6 separate regions of the Homo sapiens genome follow, and all the other regions are linked to region 5. The links are contacts of gene promoters, found by promoter capture Hi-C in human tissues and cell types (Jung and others, 2019). All regions are on one chromosome and are shown on one strand. The core of a region is centred on a gene start or on the middle of the fragment in contact, and the rest is flanking DNA. Distances in the headings are between cores, read along the strand shown. Region 1 overlaps PTPRZ1 (protein tyrosine phosphatase receptor type Z1). Region 2 overlaps PTPRZ1 (protein tyrosine phosphatase receptor type Z1). Region 3 has its middle 93 kb from the start of PTPRZ1. Region 4 overlaps PTPRZ1 (protein tyrosine phosphatase receptor type Z1). Region 5 holds the start of PTPRZ1 (protein tyrosine phosphatase receptor type Z1). Region 6 has its middle 71 kb from the start of PTPRZ1.

Region 1 (2,787 bases), core at 8-2,507, 66 kb before region 5:
GGAAAGAGTAGGACTGTCTCTGGAGCTTGTATTCCCATCAGACAAACTAACAAAAGAATCCCCACTACAACCTGCTTCATTAAAATACATCCAAGTCCATAGTCTTTATCTCACTATGAACTCCCCAGAACTATGTGTGACAATGTTGATTAATCCTATCAACTTGAAGCTGTACCCCTCTTGGAGTAGGTAAAGCTCCTTTTCTCATACCCCTCTCTTTTGGACTCTTTTACTAGTCCCTTTTCCTTTCGTTTCCTAACTAGTGTGCTGATGTAAAATCATGCCTAACATCTCTTAAATGCAAAGAAGTCAACAGTTAAAATGTAAGCCATTGCCAATCAAACTATGGCATAAATCTTGTTATCCAGAATTTTCAATAGGGTAAGTGTATGGGAATTAATTCAGTGGGCCCCAAGAAGCTTGTCTCATCACATTCCTAATTTTCTGTCCAAAAGCAGGAAGAATGCGGTAGAGGCTGGAGCACAGTGATTTCTCCTTCACCTACAGATCTTAGGATAGCTGCTCCCTTTGCCTGGCACAATTTTTCACCCATGTTGATTTAACTCCTATTTATGCTTTATCTGAATCTAAAGTCGCTTTCTCTGGTAAGCCTTCCCTGAAACTCTTAGGCCAATTAGGGTTCCGTACCTTACATTAACACCATCTCCATGAGGTATTTACCATGCTTTAAAAAAAAAATCACGCTTAATCACTATTGTTTGCATACTTGTGATTACTTACACTCATCACTGCATCTCTGATGCCTAGTACAGTGTCTGGCTTACGCTGTACAATCCAATGAGTATTGATTAAACTAATAATATCCACACTTTAAATTTTCCTTTGTCAGTAAGTTTAAAATATCATTAAGGTAGAAGGCAAGCTAGGGAGTTGATGAGAAGTTTACTCCTTCATATTCTAACACAAGTTGACTGAACATAAAAATCTGAATGATATATGAGTATGTTATATGCATAAATACAACTGATCTTCAAGAACAAACTTTTAGGGTCTTGGAAAAGAAAAACTACATGTCATTTATTTATTTTTTTCAAAGTGCTGCAAATAGATCTTACTTCCTAGATATGCTAATGAAGTATGAAAGAATGGAAACTACAGAGTTTAGAGGTAATATATTTTGGCATATGCCAAGTTTTGGATTTGCTTTGGCACTGGTTCTAGGTGGCTCTGCCTTTGTTTCAATTTCCAGGTGGCAAAGCACTATAAAATGCAGCCTTCCCTGTTTTCCAATTCATTACGATTTTTAGCTACTTCTTATATGCTAAGCCTTGCTCTGAACTCACTCCACAGTGTTTATCTTTTGTATAATCTATTTGTTGCAAGAAGGATTTGGGATGATCCCCTGAAATTATGTTATTACTAGTCACAATTCCTCTCAGGCAAAATTATTTCTGTTCCCCATGAGACTGGAAATAAAGTAACAACTATCAAATATATATTGGGCTCCTACTATGTGTGAGTCTCTGCCTCAGACACATGGATAGTCAAAGTTTTGCCCTGGTAGAAGCTTATTTTTTCTGTTGCCCTCACACTGATTTAGTTACATTTACTTAGAAAGATATTCACAAACTACTATTGAGATAAAAGCAGGTACTACTATTGAGATAAAAGCAGTACATCTAGTAAGAGGCCATCAGAATTCAGGATGCATAATTAGGAAGTGTAAGGACAAATAAAAAGTAAAAGTAAGAGGCTTAATTCTCCCCATTGAAAACCAGGAAGACACTTTTCTCTCCACCCCCACCCCGTCCTTTTTTAAAGAGCATTTGCTTTAGAAAAGAGATCGTTGTAAATACTTTCTCCTTGTTTTGCAATGTATATCAATCCTTTTGAAAGCTAGATAGGCCCTTTGTCAGCTTTATGATCCAGGATGTTTTTCTCAAGGACCCGGGGGCCATCCTTATGAAATGCAAACATCGAGGAAGATGGTGCTCCACTCTCCCAATTTCTATGGGAAGGCAGGAGCTTAACTTCCATGAGCCTCTGGCTCCAACTTGTAAAGCTACCTCTTGTCTCAAAAATATGAAGTTTATTTTCCCTCTGGATGAAGCCAATAGGGTAACACAAATAGTCACTCCAATTACCAGTTAAAGTTTAGCTGAACCATGTGTGACAAAGTTGCTGCCAAGTCCTTCTACTTAAAGACAAGTTATTGTTTATCTTGAAAACATGCAATGGGTTGTACCTATTTGGCTATATGGGGGGGTGAGATTTCTTCCTATCTTCGCAATCTTTCAGTGATTGCCTATGATGTGTATTACATTCTGGTTTAATGCTTGTTTGATAATAAAACTGCTTTTTGTTGTTGTTGTTATTACATTTATGGAGAGGATTTCTGAGGTGGGAGATTTTGTTTTTAATTATATTTCCCCAACAGAAGACATTAAGAGTAGTTATCTCTGGAAGGTGAAATTATATAGATAAATAGATAGATATTAATAGATAGGTAGATAAATATATATAAACATATGAAATATGAAATATATGATACATACATGATTTTCTTAGATGAACACACTTTTATAATGATAAATAAAAAAGTGTTTTCCTTGTGGGAAAAAAATATCAGATTGGCACTTACAATACTTGTGAAGATAATGGCTCAGATCTCTACACTTTAAGGATCTCGGCATTAATGGAATCCGATCAGAAGGCATCTACCATCTTATCACACTAAGTCTCCTCAGCCTGTGTGTATATAGGCTCCTTTTTATTGGTCATCAGAAGTTATTCTACTAAATTAGGGAGCTGAATAGCATCCCCTAA
Region 2 (2,700 bases), core at 184-2,683, 95 kb before region 5:
CAAAACTGAAAATAATAATGTCAAGATTTGGGACAATATACTTTTAGGTAATTATTACATGTAACATAATAATTTTAAAAATTATTCATTCAAGAAATACTTAGTGTTTATTACATATCAGGCACTGATGTAGAAAAATCTCTACTTTCATGAGATTTTTTTTTTTTTTTTTTTTGAGACAGAGTTTCGCTCTTGTTGCCCAGGCTGGAGTGCAATGGCACAATCTCAGCTCACTCAACCTCCGACTCCTGGGTTCAATCAATTCTCCTGCCTCAGCCTCCCGAGTAGCTGGGATTACAGGCATGCACCACCATGCCTGGCTAATTTTTTTATTTTTAGTAGAGGTGGGGTTTTGCCATGTTGACCAAGCTGGTCTTGAACTCCTGACCTCAGGTGATCCACCCACCTTGGCCTCCCAAAATGCTGGGATTACAGGCGTGAGCCACTGCGCCCAGCAGGAGTTGTTTTTTGTTTGTTTGTTTGTTTTGATTTGATTTTTTGGATAGGATCTCACTCTGTTGTCCAGGCTGGAGTGCAGTGGCATGATCTTGGCTCACTGCAGCCTCCAACTCTTGAGTTCAAGTGATTCTTGTGTCTCAGCCTCCTGAGTATCTGGAATTACAGGAGTGTGCCACCACACCCAGCTAATTTTTGTATTTTTAGTAGAGATGGGTTTTTGCCATATTGGCCAGGCTAGTCTGGTACTCTTGACCTCAAGTGATCCAGCCACTTCGGCCTCCCGAAGTGCTGGGATCACAGGCGTGAGCCACAGTGCCTGACTACTACTCTCTTGAGTTTTGAAATTAAATTATTATGTTCAAATAATTACATTACCTAAATATAGAAAATATAAAAAAAATTCACCAATGATAAAGCTTATCCCCATAGAGCTACTATTATAATTTTGAATATTTTTCTAATCTTTGTCTTACGTGTATATTTGCCTTTACATAATTTCCCAAAATACAATTTTTAAAAAAACTAGAATATCAAAAAAGAAAAGGTGTCACTTTTTGGAAATTATTTATCTATGTATAGCTTATTAGAATTTGTACTTAAATTTTAATGTATTATATTTTGCTTTTTTTTAAAAAAAAAAAAAGATAGGCTCAATAAAAAGACACTTAGAGAGGGTTTCCTAAGGATGGGATACAACTTTAAACCTTCTATATAGAAGAGCTAGGAATTTATTTTCTTAAATTTCAATTATAGCCAATTGCTTTTTTCATATCCAAATACTGACTATAACATGAGGCTAGGCAGAAAAGATCAAACTATAATGCTCAAGAAAAAGAAATCCTGATTGACTAAGTAATTGACTAAATTATATTAGCTGTAAATCACATTATCACATCTTCTAGAGGCAGCATCATTATTGTTACCTTGTAGGAAAACATGACATGATGACATTGGTCATTTTTTTTTTGTACAAATTGTCAAAATATTGTCTAAATTTCCCATTTTCTCTGCTCCATTTGGTTTCTTCTACATGTAACTTCTATCTAGTTCATAGTACACTATTCAAAGGAAAATGAGATGAAACTAGTCTAAACATACTCCAGGTCTGAAAAATATATTAAAGGCAAACAGAATGCAAATATTTTACCTGTTTTCCCAGTGTTATGAATGAATGTGTTTTCCAATGATGTTTTATCCCAACCCTGAAATTTAAGTTTCTTAAGATTCACATTTACTTGTGTAAGATCTTCATCAATATTGATAGGAGATTGTTTTGGGCTATTACATGTTGGATATTTCTTTCCCCAATTTTTTTGATTCAGTGCTCCTAGGGAAAAGAAGGAGTAAGAAATTTAGTTTCTTAAATTACCATGCAAAAATTAAACTTTACATTATAGTTAATACATTACATAAAAATAGATGCAATAGTAGAAAAATGTTTGACATCTTTGAACTAATGCATGAAATAATTATGCCTGTATTTAGATTCTGGATTTCAATACGAAACACTACAAAAGGTCTGTAGAACAACCATGCCACTATAAAAAAACAAGTCTATAGAACAACAACCAAGGTTTGGTACAACTTTAGTCTACAACATCTTCTTTTTGTGATCAGGGAGTCAATGAGAACTAACTTTTATGCAAGCTTGATCTAATGGCCACCTCTCATAATGTGACAAGTTCAGGGTTCAGCAATGGCTTTGTCCAGTCATCACAATTCTTTCAAATCAACAAAAAGCTTAATTGTCCTGTAAGGTAGTTAGTCCTAGCCCAGGATTCCAGATTGAAAGGAATCCAGATATAGGAGTAAAGTTCTGACTTCCTCAACACTCTCCATAAAAGTAGCTGCCTTCAGACCTACTGTCACCCTCTGTCATTGAAAGATTTGGTTTAATTTCCATCTGTTTGGGATCTTATTTACAAAAACATAATCATCAGGCTGTCCTTAAAATATCTCCTTCCCATTTTTCTCTGGTCGTAAAGCCTAGCACATTTTATTGTTTAACAATAAGAAAAGCAAAACAGGGATTTCTATAAAGATTTTTGCTTAAAATAAACTAAATTTTCACATGTTCCACAGTATGAAGCGTCCTCTAAACCCAAACTGCCCTTTGTTGCCTTTATTTCACCCCTACCTGAAACCATGAATCACCTCCCGTAATCTTATTTCACTGCATGTTAACTTAGCACCCAAGCAGTGCTAAGCACAGGTATATTCTACTTAAAGTTCTTTTAAAAC
Region 3 (2,989 bases), core at 444-2,943, 94 kb after region 5:
GTGAAATTCATAGGTCCCTGGCTCTCCAGTTTATTGATGCTGGGAGACCACATGGCAAAGCAGGTAAAGAAAACAACATGAGGAAAACCACTAGATCTGTACCAATAAACTATGAAAAAAAAGAGTTCAGAAACTTACCAGAGTAATTAATTTGTAACAAGATACACTGAGGAATTGTAATATTTTTATTTTTATGAACATTTTTAGAACTTTAGGGATGTTTCCCATAAAAATTAGTTGGAATTTTAATTATGGAAATAGCTCAATTATATAAAACAAATACTGCATTCTTGCTTTCAGTTTAAAGTATTTCTTTTCTTTTAGAAGTTAAGAAAACTGCACTGATGTGTTTCCAGAGAACTTTATGATATAAGGTTAGAGAGTAGATAAGGTTTCAGTCTGCCTTTGAGGATGAAACCATTGATATTTATATACTTGATATTAGCATAAGGATGATTTTTAGAGTTTTAATTACAATATTACTAAACATGCAGAGTAATTTTTAGTTCTTCTGAAAGCAAGCATTCCATGTCTTTATGTGCTTCCTCATTTTAAAATAATGTAAAATGTATTTCCTTTGGCAGAAGGTGCAGTAAGATGAAAACAATTTCCCTAAGTAGGGAGCTCATTCATTCATGTACTCAGAACCTAGAAGGTACTCAATAAAATGCTCGTTAAATGAATGAATTCTTTCAACTACCATATACTGTCTCCTAGATTTAAAGGGTTCATATTTAAATGACCTAACGTTAATCAAGATTTGAAAAATGGCTGGTGCCTGCCTGTGAATGAGAAAATAATTTTTAAGATGAGTCTTTCAAACTATTGAGCATTTTTAGATTTTAGGAGGGTTTTACAATATCTCTTCTTATTCCTAGTTGCAGGCATAGTGATATTCCCCATCATGTGGCAATGCCCAATAAATGTTCGTTGAATTTAGGGATAAATTGGGACTTTTTATGAGTTCCTCCTTTCATCTGAAGTTATACATACTTTGTTTATGTTTAGGTTGACAATGTATTTGATTAATGACTTGGATTGTCATCAGTATAAAAAAATGACCTTTGATGACTACTAAGCATGAGATCCTCAAGACAAATTAAAAAAAACAGACTACATAAGAAGTAGAGGACATTTTGTCATCTCAGGATGGACATAACCTATAGTCATTATACAGCCAAAGATAGAAATAATAAGCAGGCCAGTAATAAGCATGGCCAGTAAAAAGGACAAAGAAGGAATTTGAGGTTGTGATAAAAGCACATAGAGGAGATGATTAAGATATATGTGGGAGGTGATGGTTTCCTTCATTCAGCTAGAGCAAGGGTATATTAAAGGGTGATGAGATATTTGGTTAGAAAATATGGAGGTTGTGGACCCCATTGATGAAGGACCTCAGACACCAGACTCAAGAATTTACATGAGATGTCACAGTAAAGGGAATGTGAGTCTAGGAAACTGATGTGATGAAAGCAGTGTTTAAAAGATAATCCTGGCAGGTGTGTGCAGGATAAAATGGCAGGCTCAGAAGCTAGAGACTTAGGATATAGCTAGGGTTTGGCCAGCCCTTGGGAGGAGTTTAGGGAGATGAAGAAAGTACAAATACATGAGGTGGAGCAGGGTCAGCATGTAACTGATTGAATACAGGCAGATTTTGGGTGCTAGTTAAGGACTAGGGACGTTTGGCTGGGTTTAAGGCTTGTTTACATGTCAGATGACAGACTCCTAAGGGACATGCCCTCTGAAATAAATTATGGGAAAGAATTAAAAGCTAAGACATAAATTATAAATTTAGGGAATCACCAGCCTAAGTGTGACAGCTGAAACTGAGAGAATGGGTAACCATAGAGAGTATATAGAAAGGGGGGAACAAAATATCAAATAAAACTTTGGTTGGCTTCACACTATGGGTCATAAAGAGGGGAGGAAATGGGAAAGAGTGAAACTTTAGCTGAGGAAATAGGAATATTATGTTTTAAGAAGAGAAGAATGAATTCAAGTAAACAGTGGCCAACTGGGTCAACTGTAGTCAGGGAGACCAAAAGCAAAGTTGGAAATGTGAACGCTTGGGGAGAATTCATTCATCTAGGGGAAGAAGAGAGAGAAGGAATAGTTTTCGTTATTTTTTTCACAAACTTTTAAAAAATGTTTCTTCCTGAAAAATATGAGAGTGGACACTGAACATTTTGAATGCTTTCAAAAAGATTAATGCAAATCTTAATATAAGGGGATTATATGGTGATGTACAGACTTCGTGCTTAACAATATTGCAGCTGAAATCTATGCGTGAAAAAAGTAGATGATTATAATCCTTTGATGCTGAAGACAAACAGTTCAATCCAACTCCCAAATGGAAGAAAGAGATATACCTTTACCTTTCGAGGGGATGAGCCACGTTTTTAGAGAGGAGTTCTTTGCTGGTTGCGGTATTCTTGGTGACTTCATACAGAAGTTGGTGGATATATTTCTGTTCTTTTGCATAGTTTTCAGAGGATTGAAAAGGGAATAGACAAAAAGAATTTAAATTATTTTTTCTAAGCTCCGTCAGACTACATAGGAAAAAGATGTAAAAGCAAGTCAAAAATTGAAGTTGGAAGAAAGTTGTGACATATTCCTGGCTCTGTGACTTTGATGTTTACAAAGATGGTAAAACAAAGATAGATTTGTGTATCAAAAATATGAGTATATATGTATTTGATGACAAATAGTAAGGGATATTTAAAGACATTTTTGCAATATGTGGTAAAACAGGGATCCCTACTAAACTGATGATTTGTAGTCCATTTTCTTACCCAAGCTTGTTGGTAGTTTAAGGTTAACAAGGCTGCAAGTTATTTGCAGTTAACTCTTTGTGGTTCCATTGTCAAATATGTACAAGATGCTGCTCAATATTTATAGAGGTAGCTGGTTTACTAAAGTTTCACCCTGGTAGAGCCAAAATATAACAGAGTTTTCTTTTCTCCAATTGCTCTTTCAACCATATTCTGTT
Region 4 (2,856 bases), core at 172-2,671, 110 kb before region 5:
TCTCCTCTTTTTTAACTGCAAAAATAAAAGCAAGTAGCTCACTTCTTTATAATGATTTCAGTAAATGCAGACTGTTATACAATGGACATCTATAAAAATTATTACATAATAAATCTTGATATGCTAGGTGTTCATTATTGTTAAGTACAATAATTTTACAGAGGATCAACAGAGTCAAAATGAAGAATGTAAATTATTTGCTATTTTTTTCAGTCACAGAGGAAACTATTTCATAACAATTCTGTCATAATACTGATACTATCTTTTTAAAATTAGAATCTTTCTTTTCCTGGAATGATCTTTAATTTTGAACATGAACTGTACACACATGCTAATCCTACTGTACTGTATTCTTCTGAAGGCTTTGCAAATTTTAAATTATTTAAAGGATGTTCAGCAAGAAGAACTTGGCTCCAACCTGTCTGGAAATCTAAAGCCAGTCATTCCTTCTGTGTTTGTTGCCAATAACACATATGCTCTTTTTAACCCCAGAGGCTTAGACATGAGTAAGCTTTGGCCAATGTTTTAATTCATTCACTTATTCACCATTCATCAAGGAATCAAAGGGCTCTTACTACCTGCCAGGTACTTTATCAGATGTTACAGGTAACACTGAGATCAATTAGACAGGGATCTACTAAGAAACTAAGGCATGCACATAAACACCCCTGAAGCAAGGCAAGAAAGGCAAAGTGCCACAGCTGCAGGTCAGGGATTATGATGGTTCAGAAGAAAGAGGAATCAGAAAGGCCCTATACGCATAAGGGCATATTAATTATTTGACAGTGGTTTGTATTAAATCCAAAAAAGAATCGACTGAATATGTAACTGTATGGATGAGACTCATCCAACCAACATGACCTGACTTTTCTATTTCATTGCTGTCTCAAAATGATATATTTTGACAATGATTGAAACTTTAAAATCATAAATGTGCATATTAGTCTATGTAACCAGAAAAAAAAAGTTCTGTATCATCTCTGATCCCCCCTAGAAGGGGATATGTTTTGGCAAACGAAGGGCCCCTTTTAAAAAATATTTATGTATTTATTTATTTTTACTTCAACTTTTATTTTAGATAGAAGAGCACATATGCAGGTTTGTTACATGAGAATACTAAAAGATGCTGAGGTTTAGAGTACAAATCCCATCACTCAGCTAGTGAGCATTATATTTGATAGGGAGACTTTTTAACTCACCCACCTCTCCACTCTCTCGTACACCACAGTGTCTACTGTTCCCATGTTTATGTCTATGTGTAATTAATGTTTAGCTCCCACTTATAAGTGAGAACATGAGGTACTTGGTTTTCTGTCCCTGCATTAGTTCACTTAGGATTATGACCTGCAGCTCCATCCATCTTGCTGCAAAAAAACATGATTTCATTTTTTATGACTGTGTAGTGTTCCATAGTGTATATGTACTACATTTTTTTAATCTACCACTGAGCACATGGGTTGATTCCATATCTTTGCTATTGTGACTAGCACAGCAATGAACATATAAGTGCATATGTCACTTCTTAGAAGAAGGCATACAACTGCTAAGAAACATATGAAAAACTACTCACCATCACTAATCATCGGAGAAATACAAACCAAAACCACAATGAGATACCATCTCATACCATTCAGAATGGCTATTATTAAAAAGCCAACAAACATTGCATCTAGTGAGGCTGCAGGGAAAAGGGAATGCTTATACACTGTTGGTGGGAATATAAATTAGTCCAGCCATTGTGGAAAGCAATCTGGAGATTTCTCAAGAACTTAAAACAGAGCTACCGTTTGACCCAGCAATCCCATTACTGGGTATACACCCAAAAGAAAATAAATCATTCTACCAAAAAGGGCCTTTTTTGATTGCTGAGCTCATTAGGATGAGCACGGGCAGGCAAGTTTGAAGGACCTGGGACAAAGCTAATTTTCCTGCCTTAAGAAGACGTGAAGACTTGGGTGGGATGAGGGTAGCAGCTGAGACTCTGTGAGGGGAACTGACCAAAGAGGAGGGTCAAACAATCTGAAGGCAAAGACTCTAAGGCCCAGCAAGGGAGACTGCAGAAGAGATGTGTTTCTGCTAACATAATTTTAGAATAAAAACTGATGGCCATAAAGATACAAAACACTAATAAAAACTAGGATTGTCTTTTGAGCACTTTTATTTATCCTAAGGATATACAATATAAGCGGATAACACTATATAAGCAATATTGTCTAAGCTGTAGGCAGATATTTTGATGAGATGCTGAGTTTTGTAGCCTCTCCCCATCACTCCATAAATATTTAGTCAAAAATACAAACATAACAAAGTAGTTGGTGTGACTGGATTTTCTTGAGGAAGCTGGGGAAGGCACACATATAGGATAAGTAGACAACAAAAACAGCCTGTAAATGTGCATTTTTATTGTTAAACTTTCTAGTTTTTCCTTAAGTATTGCATATTTAAGTCCCTTCAATTTAAATGAGTGAGTCTATTTTGAGTTGCTGTTTTTCTAGTTAGTTCTGCCATTTATTTTGGAACCAAACCACAGACAAATAGGTGATAAATAAATTATTATTACTATGGCAGTCATAATAGTATTGCAGCAGGGATGTGAAATTCTGTGACAATATACACACATAGTCTAAGGGAATAAAATCGATTCCTACAAGCTCCATTCAAGAAAATTATTTTCCTTACTTTATAGGTCCTATCATGTATTTCTAGAACCCAAAACACCAAGTAGTTAAGAAAGTGTTGTTTCTGTGTTTGACCTTAGGATAAACAAAACACTCAAAATCCATTACTATTTTTTTGAAGCTTCATGTCTTTAAAGTCATCAGTTTTTTATGTAAGCAGAAATTATGTTCCTGTATA
Region 5 (2,756 bases), core at 17-2,516:
TCATGAAGGAAAAAAAGCATTTCTTTAATAAAACGCAAAAGTCCAATCTTGCACTTCTCGAAAATGACTGGAAAACTTGAGTCTGCATCGCAGGTAAAGGGAATGCTTAAACTGGCTATTGCTGAATGCAATTTCAGTTTTAAATGTAACCTGGAGGGTGCAGATGAAAAATGAAATCTGTGAATAAGTATATCAACCTGCAGCTCTCCTCTGACTTTGGCAGCACTGACCAAACCTAGAGATTTAGATGGAACTTTTTTTTTTGTAAGTAATTGCGCAGACTTGAATATGACTAAATTGAAAGTAATAAAAAAAACCCTGAAAAGTCAGGTTGGTGCTTGTGCCTGTTACTACCTTTCAGGTGTGTGTGTGTGTGTGTGTGTGTGTCTGCAATTCACACCAGACACGTGTACTTTCCATTTAAGCCCATCATACCTATAGCATAAAAATGAACAGCAAAAAAGACAGTACAGTACACAGCCCCGCACCACAGCTGTATTTCTGGTCATTTATCTTCCTATGTATATCTAAAAGGCGATTTCTACACTTTGCAAAAGAGGAGAGAAGAACGGTGGCGGCAGGGATCCGAGTAGCCCTCCGTCTCCAGTAGCTCCGTCTCCTGGGGCCCGGGGCACGAATGCCCGCGGGCCGATGGAAGGGGCGAGGGCGCGGGGCGGGGAGGGGGCGCGCAAATCCCACGCAGCTGCCTGCACCGCGCGGCCGCCCGCTCCGTGGGAGCCCAGTTGGCTGTCCCTTTTTCCTCCTGGCTAGATGGCGGCGGCGGCGGCAAGTCGCGGACACGCTGAAATGCTCCCACCCTCATCCCACCGATCCCGGAGCTGAAACCCCACCGAGCTCTTCTCACTCACCCAGGCGGCAAACACAGAGGAGCTGAATGCAAGCGAGGAAACGCTTTAGGATTCGCATTTCCAGACGGTCTGCGGCCCCTCGCCGTGCGGCTCCTCTGCTTCTCAGAGTGGAGAGGGAGGGGGAGCGAAGGAAATGTTTTTTTTGTTTGTTTGTTTTAATCCTCCAGTGTATAGATCGAAGTGAGATCGTGCGTGCGTATGTGTGTTTGTGTGTGTGTGTGTGTGTGTGAGAGAGAGAGAGACAGAGACAGAGACAGAGAGAGACAGTCAGAGACAGCGAGAGAGGAATAATCTGGAGAAAGCCGCACGGTGGTGGGGCCCGGGGCCGCTAGCCGAGGCGCATGTCCTCCGGCGTGCGGGACTTTGCCTCTTTCGCCGGCTGCGGCGGCCGCGGTCTGAGCGCTCCGAGAGCAGCGAAGCCTCAGTGCCGGGTGCGCGCTCCAGCCCGGCTGTGCGCGCCGCGGCTCCTGGAGGGGGCGGGGGCGCAGGACCGCTCCGCTGGGAGCGTGCCTCGGACCCGGGGTCGCGCGGGGGGCGGAGGGGCGCGGCTGCCGCTCTGGGTCCGGATCCCAGGGTAGCAATTCACACACCGACAATCCTCCCTCTGTCCGCTGCCAGTGGTTTCGCTGCCCTGGAGTTAGAGGGATCCGCTGGGGTTTCCAGTGTTCGCAGAACATTGGAACTCCTTCATCACTTCGGAAGGGAAGGGAAGGGAAGGCCGGACACCCATTGTCCCGCACAGCCAGAGGTTGACCTTTGAGTTTCACCTCTAAGAGTTTTTTTCATTTTATTGTTTTCTGCAGATGCTTAAGTGGGTCCAATCAGAATGCGGTGGGGGCGCCTGGGTACATTGTTTCCCTCCCTTTTTTCTTTCCATTTTCCTAATAAAGCAGTAGACCCCATTGCCTTTGGGAGAGTTGACTCCAAAAAATCTCCAGCCCTGATTGTGACCAGTCTGACCCTGCCCTTTCCCTAGACCCCAACGAAACTGCCGTGCTGGGCACAGCTGTCTGGGGGGACTTTCAACACGGCGGTGGTCCTGCCAGACCGAACCACACAAGTGCCTCCTCCCACAGGGTCGAACGGGAAGATTTTTTATTGCTTGATTGAAGGGTATGCAAAAAATGTATAATGCATACCTTCTGCTGCCTTAGAGCTGGAAATGTCACCCTCATGTGCTCTTTTCTTTGGTGGTGTTCAGAATTAGACTGTGAGCGCCTTGATGGCAGGGAGTTTACCTTTATTACTATAACCCCAGATCCTAGCAAAATGGCCTTAAAAAAAATCAATAGGTGTTCCCTGAATATTTGTTGAATTAATTTGAAGCCAAAAGGAAATAATGAGAAGGTAATTGGTGGTAGTCTCTACACTGAAAATTTATGAGATTTTCATTTATATGATATCCTTTAACTATTAGTACATGTTTTTCGTATATGAGACCCACTTTAGAGCCTTTTAGGAGTCCCATCTAAGGCACAGAAAGCCAAGTTGTGGAATTATCCCATGTATTCTTAGTAACAATTTGAAGTAGGTATCTGTACAGTGTATACTCTTGTGTCCTGTTCTTGTCTCAAAAATAGTATTCTAGCTTTAAAAATTTTAAAGAAAACTTCCTGCACATAAAATTGGGTTCTGAATGTATTTCAAGTGTTACTACGAGTTCTTGCTAATATCCCAGCCTGTGAACATTTGGCTAAATGTGCAAGCTAATGGCAGTTTGCTGTTGCTTCAGGAATAGATTATAGTCATGTAATAACAGATTTTGAAACCATTTAGTGTTTATTCAGAAACACATATCAATATTAAGAAGTTGATCCTTGATCTTATTCTTTCCATGAACAGAAATAGAAATGCTACAACTTTTACAAGAATTATGATGGGGATTGA
Region 6 (2,811 bases), core at 92-2,591, 71 kb after region 5:
TGACTATTTCTCCACTATATCATTGTGGCAAACATCATAATATTTATTTAAATGGTTCTCTCTCTTCTCTCACTATAAATGGTGTTAGAAGAGACTTGAAAGGGAGATTGCTTGAGTTTCTGTGTCACTCTCCACAGCTGCTCCTAGTCGTTGAGGTTTATACCACCATTTACAAAGAGCTGTTATATCTAGATACATCATATTTAGAGGCAAATGTTTTCTAAATCCAGTTCTACCTCTACTGACAAAGAAAAGGGTGTGCAGGAGTTGGGCTGGAGACTGGCTGCTTTCCTAAACTAAAATTGTCCAAATGGCACTTCCTGATGAGTCAAGGAGAGTCTATGGGCAGGGAGCTTGCATGTCATTACCAAGGTTACTGAAGCACTCCTTGGAGCATATTTTCAGCAGCATTGATTTTATGTAGAGACAGATGGGTTAGCTATTTTATTTAATTTGAGGGCTTCAAAAAGCTAGTCTCAATACAAATTCTATTCCTATTTATGTGATCTCAAATTCTTGCCATAGATACCTTCTAGAGATACATATCTTCTAAATAAATAAGATTTTTTCCTCTAAGCACTAGGGTTACAGATTAGCTAGCCAACACATTAGCAGGGGTTAGTTACCTAATCAATAATTAATGATATCTCTCTTCAATCAGGGGAGCATAGGTATCTGACAGGTGAATAAAAAGTGGCAGTTTATTATGAGAATTAAATAAGGCATTGCCTGTAGAGTACTGGAAACTCAGAAGATGCTGAATAAATAGTAGTTCTCATAACAGTTAGAAAAATAAAAACAGAATAAGTGATTATTAGGTTTCAAAGTCAAGCTGGAAAAGCTCTTTATGACAGTGCTTCTTAAATTCTATGCAACTGCAATGAGAACCAGACATTGCTGTCCCATATGCCTCTGCAGTCCCAGGAGCTCCTGAAAAGAAGTCTGAGGTGGTTTTTTTCCTATCATTTCTTATTCTAATGCCATTCACATGAGAATATACATGATTAATATCAGATCAATGATAGTTATGGAGAAGAGAACACAAAAAATACCAGGTAAGCTTTTGGAGGCAGGAGTAGTTTATTCTGTCTGCTCTAATTACCCTGGGTAATTAGAAAAGGAAAAATAATTCTATATAGGCCACTGAATGAGATCTCATTTCCTATGAGAGATAAGATCCAGCTTCCTCTGGAAAATCACCAAATCAAACTTGCTTCATCACTTACTGCTGCCATAAGCTCTTTAGATGAGTTGGGAAGATAGGTTCTTTTCATCTAAAGCCCTTGCCCCTGGACAAATCACTCAACCTCTGTGAGTCTTGGTTTTCTCATCTATGAAATGAGCATAATGTCAACATTATCTACTTCATCAATTGTTATGAAAATCAACTGAGGTAATATATGACCTTTTATTAAAAAAACACTTATGAAACAAAATGTTTCAGGTAATCTACTGGGCATTGAAGGCACTAAACACGAGTAAGACATAGTCTCCCCCTCACACAGGGAGTCACACACATAAATAATGGCTGCTTATGATAAAAAAAAATACCATAATGGAGATACAACAGAAACCCATCTGTCCATTAAGTTAGGACTGATAGAAGAGTGGCTATCAAAAAGTTCATTTAAGTAGAATATCATATGAGTGATGTATGTGTGTGTGCATATGTGTGTGTGTATATATATATATATCTTTAACTTAACCCAAACAAATACACATTTGTTCGTCAATTTTTTATGTTCTACATAGTTCCCTGTGCATGGATCTACTGATTGGAGTTCTTAGTTCCATTTCTTCCATAAACCATACCTATAAGATACTATGCATGCTTCCCAATAAGGACGGTATTGTTAAAGTAGAATGAGAGCTTAAAAGAACCGTGGAGAACTAATTTGCAAAGACACTTATAAATCCAGTAGTTTGGAATAGACAACACAGACAGCATGTCATTTTCAGTTGTACCCATAAGGGAGATAAATAACTTAAAGGAAAAAAGCAGCTGTTGAGGTGTTGGGGAAGGTAGAAGGGCTTTTGAGGAACAGGAAACAAGATATGGAAATCAGAAAGGGATGATTCATGGAAGATATGCTTCAGGCACACTTTCCCAACACCCTTGGGAAATGTGGCCAAAGGATAGATGCCTGAGAGAAACTGAACAGATAGGTATGATTTTAATCACCATGTTCAATTTTTCAACAACTCTAACCTATTCATGCTGGATCATCTAAACTTTCTGAATATTCAATTTATCTTTATGTCACTATGTCCAAATTTCTGAACAGATTCATCTACCATACCTACTTCCATACATGGGAAAAAAGAGAGGTAAAAAAAAAATCCATATAGACATATTTCTAGCCTATGGAATTGAGGCAGAATTCACTGACCTCACCACTAGTGGACTGAGAAAATGCAAGGCCCATTGACCTGGGGCAAGGCAAGCATAAACGTAAGCTTCCACCAGTCATCTTGCTGAAAAATTGTGATTGCAAAAAAGCTGTTGCATAGCACCTTGTAATGTTAGAAGGCTGATTTTCACCACCATGCCTTCCCTTAGGGATCACTCCTTACCTGACTAAAGTCTTACTCCTTTTTCAATAGGAGCTCAAATGCCACCTCTCCACAAACAGTGATCCTTGACCTCTATCTCATTGTCCCTTAGTCCGATAACAATACTATGTTATTGACAATGAGATAGATGTCATTCTATGTCCTGCAATAACATATTTCTTGAAGGTTATTTCATTCTGTCTTGGGATATATTTGTATCTGCAAGTGGACTGTAAGCTTCCTGGACATGGGATCTTT

The links. The method cuts DNA at HindIII sites, captures the fragments that hold promoters and counts their contacts. A contact is called where the count stands out against the background at its distance.
Region 1: a contact is called between a fragment that was not itself captured here and the fragment with the promoter of PTPRZ1 in region 5, in 4 of the 25 tissues and cell types used here (H1 embryonic stem cells, aorta, mesenchymal stem cells and 1 more).
Region 2: a fragment that was not itself captured here is called in contact with the fragment with the promoter of PTPRZ1 in region 5 in 3 of the 25 tissues and cell types used here (adrenal gland, aorta and hippocampus).
Region 3: a contact is called between a fragment that was not itself captured here and the fragment with the promoter of PTPRZ1 in region 5, in 2 of the 25 tissues and cell types used here (IMR-90 fibroblasts and neural progenitor cells).
Region 4: a fragment that was not itself captured here is called in contact with the fragment with the promoter of PTPRZ1 in region 5 in 2 of the 25 tissues and cell types used here (H1 embryonic stem cells and neural progenitor cells).
Region 6: a contact is called between a fragment that was not itself captured here and the fragment with the promoter of PTPRZ1 in region 5, in 4 of the 25 tissues and cell types used here (H1 embryonic stem cells, bladder, hippocampus and 1 more).

What each region holds. Positions count from the first base shown.
Region 1 is chr7:121,937,725-121,940,511 of GRCh38, reverse strand. All of the region lies in intron 2 of PTPRZ1 (protein tyrosine phosphatase receptor type Z1), which reads right to left. Among named protein-coding and RNA genes, the nearest start is that of PTPRZ1, 66 kb to the right of the region's middle. RefSeq lists enhancers at 1,381-1,917, 1,918-2,454. The HindIII fragment of the contact is 4,183 bases long and covers 1-2,787 here.
Region 2 is chr7:121,967,037-121,969,736 of GRCh38, reverse strand. PTPRZ1 (protein tyrosine phosphatase receptor type Z1) reads right to left here. Exons shown (of 30, transcript NM_002851.3): 3 at 1,607-1,786. Among named protein-coding and RNA genes, the nearest start is that of PTPRZ1, 95 kb to the right of the region's middle. The HindIII fragment of the contact is 4,209 bases long and covers 1-2,700 here.
Region 3 is chr7:121,778,223-121,781,211 of GRCh38, reverse strand. No RefSeq gene overlaps it. Among named protein-coding and RNA genes, the nearest start is that of PTPRZ1, 93 kb to the left of the region's middle. The HindIII fragment of the contact is 4,451 bases long and covers 1-2,989 here.
Region 4 is chr7:121,986,378-121,989,233 of GRCh38, reverse strand. The region is part of intron 8 of PTPRZ1 (protein tyrosine phosphatase receptor type Z1); the gene reads right to left. Among named protein-coding and RNA genes, the nearest start is that of PTPRZ1, 110 kb to the right of the region's middle. The HindIII fragment of the contact is 4,212 bases long and covers 1-2,856 here.
Region 5 is chr7:121,871,671-121,874,426 of GRCh38, reverse strand. PTPRZ1 (protein tyrosine phosphatase receptor type Z1) reads right to left here and starts at 1,266. Exons shown (of 30, transcript NM_002851.3): 1 at 870-1,266. The coding sequence starts at 927. RefSeq lists an enhancer at 809-1,310. The HindIII fragment of the contact is 8,425 bases long and covers 1-2,756 here.
Region 6 is chr7:121,800,757-121,803,567 of GRCh38, reverse strand. No RefSeq gene overlaps it. Among named protein-coding and RNA genes, the nearest start is that of PTPRZ1, 71 kb to the left of the region's middle. The HindIII fragment of the contact is 5,772 bases long and covers 1-2,811 here.